2 separate regions of the Homo sapiens genome follow, and region 1 is linked to region 2. Evidence: promoter capture Hi-C in 16 types of primary human blood cells and fetal thymus (Javierre and others, 2016). All regions are on one chromosome and are shown on one strand. The core of a region is centred on a gene start or on the middle of the fragment in contact, and the rest is flanking DNA. Distances in the headings are between cores, read along the strand shown.

Region 1 (5,374 bases), core at 423-2,922, 130 kb before region 2:
TCTCTCTCTTACGTTCCCCTGACATCTTGGGACAGTTCCCATGGCACAATGTAGCTCTATTGGTAGTTGTGGAGTTCACTAGAGGATGGGTCCCTGACCTACAATAAAGTTAAGGCAGCTGCAGGGAAGCCGGGCGCGGTGGCTCACGCCTGTAATCCCAGCACTTTGGGAGGCCGAAGCAGGTGGATCACTTGAGGCCAAGAGTTTGAGACCAGCCTGGCCAACATGGTGAAGCCCCATCTCTACTAAAAATCCAAAAATTAGCTGGGCGTCATGGCGGGCACCCATAGTCCCAGCTACTCAGAAGGCTGAGGCAGGAGAATTGCTTGAAACCGGGAGGCAGAGGTTGCAGCGAGCCAAGATTGTGCCACTGCATACCAGCCTGGGCGACAGAGTGAGACTCCATCTCAAAAAAAAAAAAAAGGTGGGGGCAACTGTAGAGGGATACTTCAGTTCAGGGAACTGAAGGCCCTGGGTGACTCCCTGAGAGCAGAGATGAGCAGAAGGGCTCCACACGCCAGGCAGAACCCAAGCGGAGCCCCCTCCTGGATCTGCAGCTCCTGTCTCTAATTTGCCCAGGAAGTAGGCTCTCTGGTAGAACAGAGGAGAATGGGTACAATTTCTCTAAGACACAGCAGGTGTATTTTTCTTACAGTGTCTAGAGATCAAATTTTAAAAATCAAATCTGGATATTACCCTCAGGTCAACCTCTCAGTTTCTATTCTGTCTGAGACACGTCCCCCACCAGGATGAGTTGAGGGAAGACCGAGTGGTCTTCCTGGTGACAGCTACACATGATGGGATGATCCCTAGACAACCACAGCCTCCCCTTAGTAACTGATGCGGCCTGGCCATCTGGGAACTAACTCATTGGCTCCTGCCCTAAACTGGTTCCCTCTTGAGCCTATAGAAGTCTTTCCAAAACTCCTCCTGTCAAGGCCTCTCTGCAACTCGCAGTCTGGTGTGCTACGAAGGTTCAGGTTGAGGTAAGGTCTTTATTTTTTTATTTTTTATGTTTTTTTGAGACGGAGTCTCCATCACCCAGGCTGGAGTGCAATGGCATGGTCGCGGCTCACTGCAACCTCCACCTCCTGGGTTCAAGCAATTCTCCTGCCTCAGCCTCCTTAGTAGCTGGGACTACAGGCACATGCCACCACACCCGGCTAATTTTTGTATTTTTAGTAAAGATGGGGTTTCACTATGTTGGCCAGGCTGGTCTCGAACTCCTGACCTCATGATCCGCCCGCCTTGGCCTCCCAAAGTGCTGGGATTACAGGCGTGAGCCACCATGCCTGCCAGCGGCAGGCAAGGTCTTTTGAGTGAGAGGCTGAGCTGGGAGTGAGGGCGGGACTGGGGGGAGATGCAGCCCTCTTGCCTCGTGCCGTCCTGCGCACTGCAGTTCACGTTGGCCCCGTGCTCCAGCAGGATGTTCAGGATGTCGGTCCAGCCCCGGGAACAAGCCTCATGCAGGGCTGTGTAGCCAGCATTGTCACGGTGATTCACATCTTCACTGTCTTTCTGGAGGCAGTAGAGAACAACATCCTGTGGGGACAGGGACAACTCCATGAGCAAAGAGAGGTCTAATTCTTGAACTTATATAACCCTGAGACTCAAAGCTCCCCAAATATCTGAGGAGTCTCAGAGCCTGCCCTTTATAGCAGGGACACACTTCAAAATCTTTCATTAACAACATCAGTCCTGAGCCACAATTGCCAGGACCCCAGCTCTGGGCCGTTTCCTTGGCAGTGGAGAGACTTTTTTTTTTGAGACAGTCTCACTCTGTTGCCCAGGCTGGAGTGCAGTGGCGCAATCTCAGCTCACTGCAGCCTCTGCCTCCCAGGTTCAAGCGATTCTCCTGCCTTAGCCTCCCAAGTAGCTGGAGCTACAGGCGCACGCCACCACGCCTGGCTAATTTTCGTATTTTTAATAGAGATGAGATTTCACTATGTTGGCCAGGCTGGTCTCCAGCTCCTGAACTCAGGTGATCTGCCCACCTTGGCTTCCCAAAGTGTTAGGGTTACAGGCGTGAGCCACCGCACCTGGCCTGGAGAGACTTTTTTTATGGCCAAGGACACTCATCTGGGTGGTGGTATTTGAGGTGAGGTCCTCAGAGAGGCTGACCTGCCCGCCCAGAGCTCAAGCACTCAGACCTCGACTCCCTGAGCTTGGCAAGCCAGCCCCAGACCAGAGAAATGAGATGTGGTGGAGAGCACAGCCTCTGGTGGCAATTCAAGAATAAGGAAGACAATTGTTTTAAGGACTATCCCTGGATGCACGTCTCGGCAGGACCAATGTTCAAGCCAGGACAGTCAGTTCTAGCCCTCCCCTCAAATCAGGATAATCCAATAGGCTGGGTGCAGTGGCTCACGCCTGTAATCCCAGCACTTTGGGAGGCTGAGGCGGGCAGATCACCTGAGGTCAGGAGTTTGAGACCAGCCTAGCCAACATGGCAAAACCCCCTCTCTACTAAAAATACAAAAATTAGCCCAGTGTGATGGCAGGTGCCTGTAATCCCAGCCACTCAGGAGGCTGAGGCAGGAGAATCCCTTGAACCCAGGAGGTGGAGGCTGCAGTGAGCCGAGATTGCACCGTTGCACTCCAGCCTAGGTGACAGAGCAAGACTCCATCTCCAAAAAAAAAAAAAAAGGATAATCCAATACTGCCATTCATCCACACTTTAATGACTGCCTTCCTTGGATTGAGATGATGCTAGGACTACAGGTGGGACACCAGGGACTTGAAGCACCCTAGCTAGCATGGGCTGAAGCTGGGTGAATGAGGTGAGGAGGGGAGAGGCTGGCAGCATTAATGGCTGCCTGGCTTTCCAAACAATGGATCCCATAGCTGCACCATTGCCAGTCCTCTCTGGGGCACTGGGGAGATGGGCCACTCCACCTTTCTGTCTGACAGCTCACAGGCTAGCTGGCTAGAGCGGCTGTGTGTGCAGCCTGTGTCAGGGGTGCTGCTGGCTGTATATAGAAACTGTCAAGCTCCTTTACCCGGGAGAAAGCCCGAGGCTTCCCACCCTCCTCACCAGTGCAGATGTCTGCCTCTTCCCCCAGGCCCAAAAGGGCTCCTTCCACCCTCCCTGACAGGCTGCCTTAGTGCTCCAGCCCTGTCCCATTGGCCCCTCCAATGGTTTCCTGTTGGCTGGTTTTGCCCAGGGTACAAGACAATTAAATTAACCTTGACGGCAGGGATTGGTCTTGATTTTTGTTTTAGGTCTCCCTCGGCAGCTATCCAGGCACGCACACTAGGTGCTCATGAAAGATGGGCTGCTTGCCAGTGAGACACTGTCACGTCAGCTCCCCAGAGCTGACCAGTCTGGCTGGGAGTGTGGCTGGTGTGAAACAACTCAGGTATAGGGATGGAAAGCCTTAAAACCAAAGGCACACTCTGTAACTAACCCAGCAACTCCACTGCTAGGAGCATACCCTGAGGAAATAATCCATATGGTAGGCAAAGATACACACTCAATAAAAAGTGGGGAACAATGGAAACGTCCAAGGTGTAACTGAATTATGGTGAATGAGTCAGTCTTCCACCTACCCTGGCACTTGGGAATCAAAAGACCTTGGTTTGAATTCAGACTCATATGCGTAGTAGTTGAGTGATCTTAGACATATCAGTAACACTGCAAAGCCTCGATTTTCTCACCTATAAAATGGGGATAATAAATCTACTCCATCGGCTTACTGTGAGATTAAATGATACAAAGTAATCAGGCTCTTCACATGACAAAAGAAGTGCTCAATAAATGCCAGCTTCCTTTCTTGCCTTCTTTCTAATCTATAGGGTAGTAGTATAAGGTGGGGTTAGCTCAGCCTCGCCCCTCAAACATGATCCTGGCCCCTCTGCGAGAGGCGAAAATGAGGGGAAGCTGGAGGAGGAGATGAAGAGTGAGCAATAAATCACCCCTTGTTCCTTTCTGAGTTGGGAAACCACCATACAGAGAAATTTAAGACAACGTGGATATCCAAAAATTGCGTTCCTGGTCTAGGAATATACTGCATGATACCATTTCAATTGCATTCATCCCAAATTGACATTCAAGCAAGTTTGCATTCTCACACGCTGACATCCAAGTGATGAGGGGCAAGGCAGCCCCAGGGCAATCTGGGGTGTAGAGGGAGGCCAGCCTGGGTTCAAGCACCAGAAGAGCCCATGGAGAAAAGCTTCTTCATAGATGCTCAGACCAACGGCGCCCTGTGGTCAGTCGAAAACTCCCTTACCTTATAGCCAAGACGCGCCGCCCTCTGCAGGAGGGTCTCACCAGCATTTTTGTTCACTATGAGCCGACGTGCCTCTGGGGGGATCTGCCGGGCTGTAGGTGACTCTGAGGCCTCCTCTGAGCTGGCACTTCGGGACTTAGAGGGTGTACATGGTTCTGTGGGTTTCACTGGGGTGGGAGATTTGGGAGATCGTGTCTTCTGCTGGCTCCAACGACCTTTGCCCTGGAAAGCAGAGATGCAGTCCTAGGTCAGGTCAGGCCAGGCAGCTTATCCATCCACCAGGGTCATCACTGCCCTCAGTGGCCAAGGCCATCTCACCTTATCTGTGTCCATGCTGTACTTTGCTTACACTACCCTAAATGGCCGAGACTACTGTCAGGTTTGAGGCCAGACGCTGGGCCAGGCGCTAACCATGTGAAGTCTCTCCAGGATCAACACAGGTTCCCATGAGTTTGTAGCCGGTGGGGAGATATGAAGAGGTTCAAATGCTCAACCCCATAAACCAAGGAATGCCACAGGGATTGTAAATCAGAGATTGAGGGGATATCCTAGCTTCTCTCAAGACTCTGCATGCCTTCTTTACCTGCCTCAATCACCATTTATTGAGGTTTTTATAAGTCCTATCTGTAAATAGGCAGAAGCAAACTCTGAGAGTAAAGAGAAATGAGACAGCTATCTTTTTTTTTTCTTTTTTTGAGACCGAGTCTCACTTTGTCACTGAGGCTGGAGTGCAGTGGTGTGATCTCTGCTCACTGCAACCTCTGCCTCCCAGGTTCAAGGGATTCTCCTCCCTCAGCCTCCTGAGTAGCTGGGATTACAGGTATGCGCCACCATGCCCAGCTAATTTTTGCATTTTTAGTAGAGAGGGGTTTCGCCACATTGGCCAGTCTGGTCTCGAACTCCTGATCTCAAGTGATCCGCCTGCCTCGGCCTCCCAAAGTGCTGGGATTACAGGCATGAGCCACCATGCCCGGCCGGCTATCTTTGACTAGTCACAGCTGCTAAAGCTTCACACTTGTAGCAAAAACCTTCCTTCCACATCCAGTCCTCACAGAATGTTCCCATCTTCCATCACACTGTGTCCCCATATCATACTCAGACTCCCCTGGGGTGGTAGAAAGATCTAAGGCAGACCTGGGCTT
Region 2 (5,594 bases), core at 2,272-4,771:
CACCCCAGGGTGAAAATTGGTTCTTTCTGGGAGAGTATGAAAAAAATCTTAGATATTACAATGTTTTGTGTCCCTCCAAGGCTCAACTCTGTCCAACAAACTCTTATTCCTTAGGACTTGATTTCCTGGGGAAGGGGCACAGGGGGAGGGATACAATGAGGAAAAAAATGTCTTGAGGCCGCGCACGGTGGCTCACGCCTGTAATCCCAGCACTTTGAGAGGCTGCGGCGGGTGGATCACGAGGTCAGGAGATCCAGACCATCCTGGCTAACACGGTGAAACCCCGTCTCTACTAAAAATACAAAAAACTAGCCAGGCGCGGTGGCGGGCACCTGTAGTCCCAGATACTCGGGAGGCTGAGGAAGGAGAATGGCGTGAACCTGGGAGGCGGAGTTTGCAGTGAGCCAAGATCGCACCACTGCACTCCAGCCTGGGCGATAGAGTGAGACTCTGTCTCAAAAAAAAAAAAAAAAAAAAAGGCTTGAAAGGCTCCTCTCAGGGGAGCAATAAAAAAGCAAAGGTTGAGAAATACTGTACTAGGCAAAGGCCCTTGAATAAGTAATGTGACCTCTCTGAGCTCTGGCTGAAGAGAATATTTGCCTGTCTCCTAACTCAAAGCATTGTTAAGAGAACTGAAATAAAAATGAAATTGTACAAATATGAATTATGACTAAGTTACTAAGAGGCAGCTGTCTTTATTCATGTCCATCTATCCTATAAGTATCTCATCAAACTCTGTAGGATACCTTGACCACAGCCTTCTAGGCTTTCTTTGAGAGATGGAAGAAACTGAAGGGCATCTGACTACACTTCTTCACCCACTCTCCCAGGTATTTATGGTATGAGTCATTAACCACATCAAAAACAGTTCCTAGGGGGGGTGAGGTGAACACAATGCCCTTGGAACTCCACAGGTTTCATGCATGGGTATCTTCCTTTGTTCAACTTACCTTCAGAACTGACATTGAACTCTGACACCTTCAGACTAGCCTCAGACCTCTCAGCCAATTTCCGCCTGAAATTAGGCAAAACGATATAATAGGAATGAATAAATTTTATGGGGGCTTGGGGTTGGGAGAGACAAACACTTCTCTCTTCAAACAGGGCTTTGGTTTCTTGTATTTCTTCTAGGGTCATGTTTTGTCATGATGCAGCAAGGAGATCTGTTCCTAACTTGGACTTGGTTGTCTAACCCTCATCTCTTCTCTTTATTACAAGGTAAGCATAGTGGAAAACATATTGGACTTAGATTCAAACACACCTGAACCTGTAACTTATGAGCCAGGTGACCTTGGGGGTAAGTAAATTTATTTCTCTAATGGGGTTAAATAATGCCTACTCAATGCTTTAAAAGATTTTCAGTGTGGAATAAGACTGCAAATGCTTACAATAATAGCACTAAGACTAATAACAGCTAACAGTTAATTATATAATGCTTACTATATGCTAGGCACTGGTATTAAGGTCTTTACATGAAGCACTCAATAAATATTAGCTGCAGAGAAATCTCACGGAATTGACTATATAACCTGCCCTAACTGACGGGAACGTTACCTATTCTTTCCATCAAGGGAACTGATTGCTTCCAGAAGCTTTTGATGCTTTCTCTCTCCATCATTGTCCCCCTAAGACACAGAAAAGGAAAAACAATCAGGATGAGGGGGAGGGAAAAGACAACATGGAAATTGAGTCTCATGTAAAATCTCTTGTTATTTATTTATTTATTTTTGAGACGGCGTCTCGCTCTGTTGCCCAGGATGGAGTGCAGTGGTGTTATCTTGGCTCACTGCAAGCTCCGCCTCCCAGGTTCATGCCATTCTCCTGCCTCAGCCTCCCAAGTAGCTGGGACTACAGGCGCCTGCCACCACGCCTGGCTAATTTTTTGTATTTTTAGTAGAGACGGGGTTTCACTGTGTTAGCCAGGATGGTCTCAATCTCCTGACCTTGTGATCTGCCCGCCTTGGCCTCCCAAAGTGCTGGGATTACAGGCATGAGCCATCACCCGGGCCTGTTTTGGTTGGTCTTATAAATTATACTTATGCAACTTGAGGGTAGTGATTGTAACTTAGTTTCCAAATCCTCATAGCACTTAATATGATACAGTATCTTATATATGAAACACTAACCATTTGCAATTTATTTGAGAGACCTGAACAAATACATAGAACATTGTCACACCCTTCCATTCCAGGAATGTGCTCTCTACCCTAATTTTGAAGGCAGTTTAGCAATTGTCACCCACCTCATCTTCACTCTCACTCAAGAGGTAGTCTTTTGGCAAATCCGCTAGTTCTTCCTGTTGGCTCAAAGCCAGAAGGCTGTTAAAAGAGGCAACAGAGAAATGTGAATGCAATATACCCATGTAACAAACCTGCATATGTATCCCTTAATTATAATAAAAGTCGAAATTAAAAAAAGAAATATTATTATTTGAAGCAATGTCTAATCTATTAAAACAATCTCGAAAACATTGTAATTTCAGCACAGAATAGCCCTATCCCTCAGAAGATATATAAAGCAGCGTGAATGCCTTTGGAAACTTGTCAAGATGTGAAATTTAGACTGAAGTCAGGCATCACCTCCAAGAGTGATGCCTGACTTCAAAACTGCATGTAAAAGAGCTATCACTTTTCAGGGATTGGCACAACATTTCCTATGACCTATGGGAAGCTGTAAAAATGTCAGACCCTAGAATAATATGGCCAAAGACGCTGTTGCTAGCTAGCCCTGGAGGCAAGGCAGTTTCACGATTAATATTTCTAAGCATCCTCCATATATTTGACTCATTGATAGGCAGCCTAATCAAAAGTGTTATCTTGATCCTTGTTCCCAGGAATGGAGAAACAGGTCGAAAGCAGCTGGGTAAGCCACTTTCCCTGGGGCTTGCTTAGTAAAGTAGGTGCTTAACTAAGGAGATTGGTACCCACAAACAAATTATAAAATGTACCATTACCTAACAGCATATATTATTAGTATTTGCAAAGCCAACATTACTAAACGGACTACATTTAGTTCCGGGGGCGGGGTGGGGGGGGCACAAAACATCACAGGAGCCAAAACGTGGTGGATGACTCCAATCAGCAAAGCTTTCCAAGATTCGGGGAGTTTATAACGCCTGCACTGCCTGCGCAGAGGATTAAATCGGGCCGCGACAGAGGCAGAAAAAGGGGCCACGTGACGAAAAATGTGAAACACAGTAAATGAGCTGGGGAGGCAGAAACAGCATCAGGACCAACAGGGATGCGGCTATACAGCTGAGGAGCGGAGTAAGCGAATGAAATTAAATTAAAAGGGCTTTAAAGGCTGGATCGCGGAAAATAGGAACGAATGGCCAGCTCTTCAGGGGAACCACTGCCATCTGTTAAAGGGGGGGCTCCCATTTCCCAAAAGCTGGGGAACCCGGCCCCCAACGAGACCCAGAATCCCCCCTCCCCTCGTTGCCCTTCACCTCTCTGCAAGCCGGTTCGCAGTCATTTCAGCAGCCAGCTTCTCTCACATGGACCAAGAACGGAAGCCGAAGGAAAGCAATTTCCGTGCGGGCCGCAAAGCAATTTCTGTTTCCGTCAATCGCTCGCGACGTACACGTCACTTCCGTTCCGTACGAGGCGTGAGAGAAGCAGGAGCCGTGTAGGGAGGGGCCTGCAGAAAACTGGGAGGCCTGAGATGAAACGGCTGTCAGCGGGTGGGGCATTCCTTTCTCCACCCACCCCGTATTTCTCTGGCGCGCGGGTGTCTGTCCTCCTGGCCCCTGGTTTCCACGTGGCCCAAGGTGGGTTAGCTTAGGGCGACGGTGCTGCGCTCTCAGGGGCTGAGCCCGCGCCTTCATTCGTCACTGCAGAATCCAGAAGGAAAGACTACAGCGCCCGTCCTTGTGCGACGGCGTCCTGCAAGCCGACCACAAGCCAGCTCGGGGGTTTATTGAATGCCTATTAAGTGGCCAGATTGTGCCGGGCCCCGGAGATCCGATGGTGAACATAACAAGTTTCCTTCCATTTAAGGAAAAATCGCCTTTGATCCCTTGTAATTGCAGCTTTGTTCTTCATTTCCTGAGTCAAAAGATTTTTTTTATCCAAGAAGGGGCCATCAGTAACTACGCTTCCTCACCTCCCATCAACTTAAAAAAATTTTTTTAAACAACTTTTTTTCTCCCATCAACTTTTAAGAATTTTATTTATTTATTTTTGAGACAGAGCCTTGCTGTGTCGTTCAGGCTGGAGTGCAATGGCGTGATCTCAGCTCACTGCAACCTCCACCTCCCGGGTTCAAGCGATTCTCCTGCCTCAGCCTCCCGAGTCGCTAGGATTACAGGCACCCGCCACCATGCTCGGCTAATATTTGCATTTTTAGTAGAGACGGGGTTTTGCCACGTTGGCCAGGCTGGTCTAGAATTCCTGGCCTCAAGTGATCTGCCCGCCTCGGCCTCCCAAAGTGCTGAGATTACAGGTGTGAGCCACCGGGCCCGGCCTAATATATATATATATTAATTAATGATTGTAGAAAAATAATAGACAAGAACATTCTTTTCATTTTTTTTTTTTGAGACGGAGTCTCACTCCGTCGCCCACGCTGGAATGCAGTGGTGCGATCTCAGCTCACTGCAAGCTCCGCCTCCCGGGTTCACACCATTCACCTGCCTCAGCTTCCTGAGTAGCTGGGACTACAGGCGCCTGCCACCACACCCGGCTAATTTTTTTTTTTTTTTTAAGTAGAGACGGGGTTTCACCGTGTTAGCCAGGATGGTCTCGATCTCGTGACCTCATGATCCACCCGTCTCGGCCTCCCAAAGTGCTAGGATTACAGGCGTGAGCCACGGCGCCCGGCCCGTTCTTTTCATTCTTGTAATCCATTCCCATTTTGCTTTTGCCCCATTATTCCACAGAAATTGCTCTGGACAAGATCAGCGACACCCAAAGTTGCTAAATAAAACGGATACCTCTCAGTCTTTGGCTTCCCAGAACTTTGTGTGGCATTTAGTAACTGTTGATTTCTTTTCTTTTCTTTTCTTTTCTTTTCTTTTCTTTTTTTTGAGACGGAGTTTCGCTCTTGTTGCCAAGGCTGGAGTGCAGTGGCGCGATCTTGGCTCACTGTAACCTCCGCCTCCTGGGTTCAAGTGATTCTCCTGCCTCAGCCTCCCGTGTAGCTGGGATTACAGGCATGCGCCACCACGCCTGGCTAATTTTTGTTTTTTTTTTTTTTTTGAGACGGAGTCTCGCTCTGTCACCCAGGCTGGAGTGCAGTGGCACAATCTCAGCTCACTGCAACCTCTGCCTCCCTGTTTCAAGTGATTCTCCTGCCTCAGCCTCCCGAGTAGCTGGACTACAGGCACATGCCACCATGCCCGGCTAATTTTTTGTATTTTTAGTAGAGATGGGGTTTCACCGTGTTAGCCAGGATGGTCTCGATCTCCTGACCTCGTGATCCGCCCTCCTCGGCCTCCCAAAGTGCTGGGATTACAGGCGTGAGCCACCGCGCCCAGCCTAATTTTTGTATTTTTAGCAGAGATGGAGTTTCGCCATGTTGGCCAGGCTGGTCTCGAACTCCTGGCCTCAGGTGATCCTCCCACCATGGCCTCCCAAAGTGCTGGGATTATGGGC

What was found. Contacts are between HindIII fragments. The CHiCAGO score rates a contact against its expected background, and 5 or more counts as called.
Region 1: a contact is called between a fragment that was not itself captured here and the fragment with the promoter of UTP14A in region 2, in 13 of 17 cell types (neutrophils, naive CD8 T cells, non-activated CD4 T cells and 10 more). The highest score is 11.2, in neutrophils.

What each region holds. Positions count from the first base shown.
Region 1 is chrX:130,033,535-130,038,908 of GRCh38, reverse strand. It overlaps BCORL1 (BCL6 corepressor like 1), which reads right to left. Exons shown (of 14, transcript NM_001379451.1): 9 at 4,233-4,454; 10 at 1,376-1,542. Among named protein-coding and RNA genes, the nearest start is that of BCORL1, 54 kb to the right of the region's middle. The HindIII fragment of the contact is 5,010 bases long and covers 1-4,177 here.
Region 2 is chrX:129,904,091-129,909,684 of GRCh38, reverse strand. UTP14A (UTP14A small subunit processome component) reads right to left here and starts at 3,521. Exons shown (of 15, transcript NM_006649.4): 1 at 3,449-3,521; 2 at 2,243-2,318; 3 at 1,555-1,625; 4 at 951-1,015. The coding sequence starts at 3,474. LOC105373335 (a long non-coding RNA gene) reads left to right here. Exons shown (of 3, transcript NR_188631.1): 3 at 1,132-2,421. The HindIII fragment of the contact is 20,573 bases long and covers 3,089-5,594 here.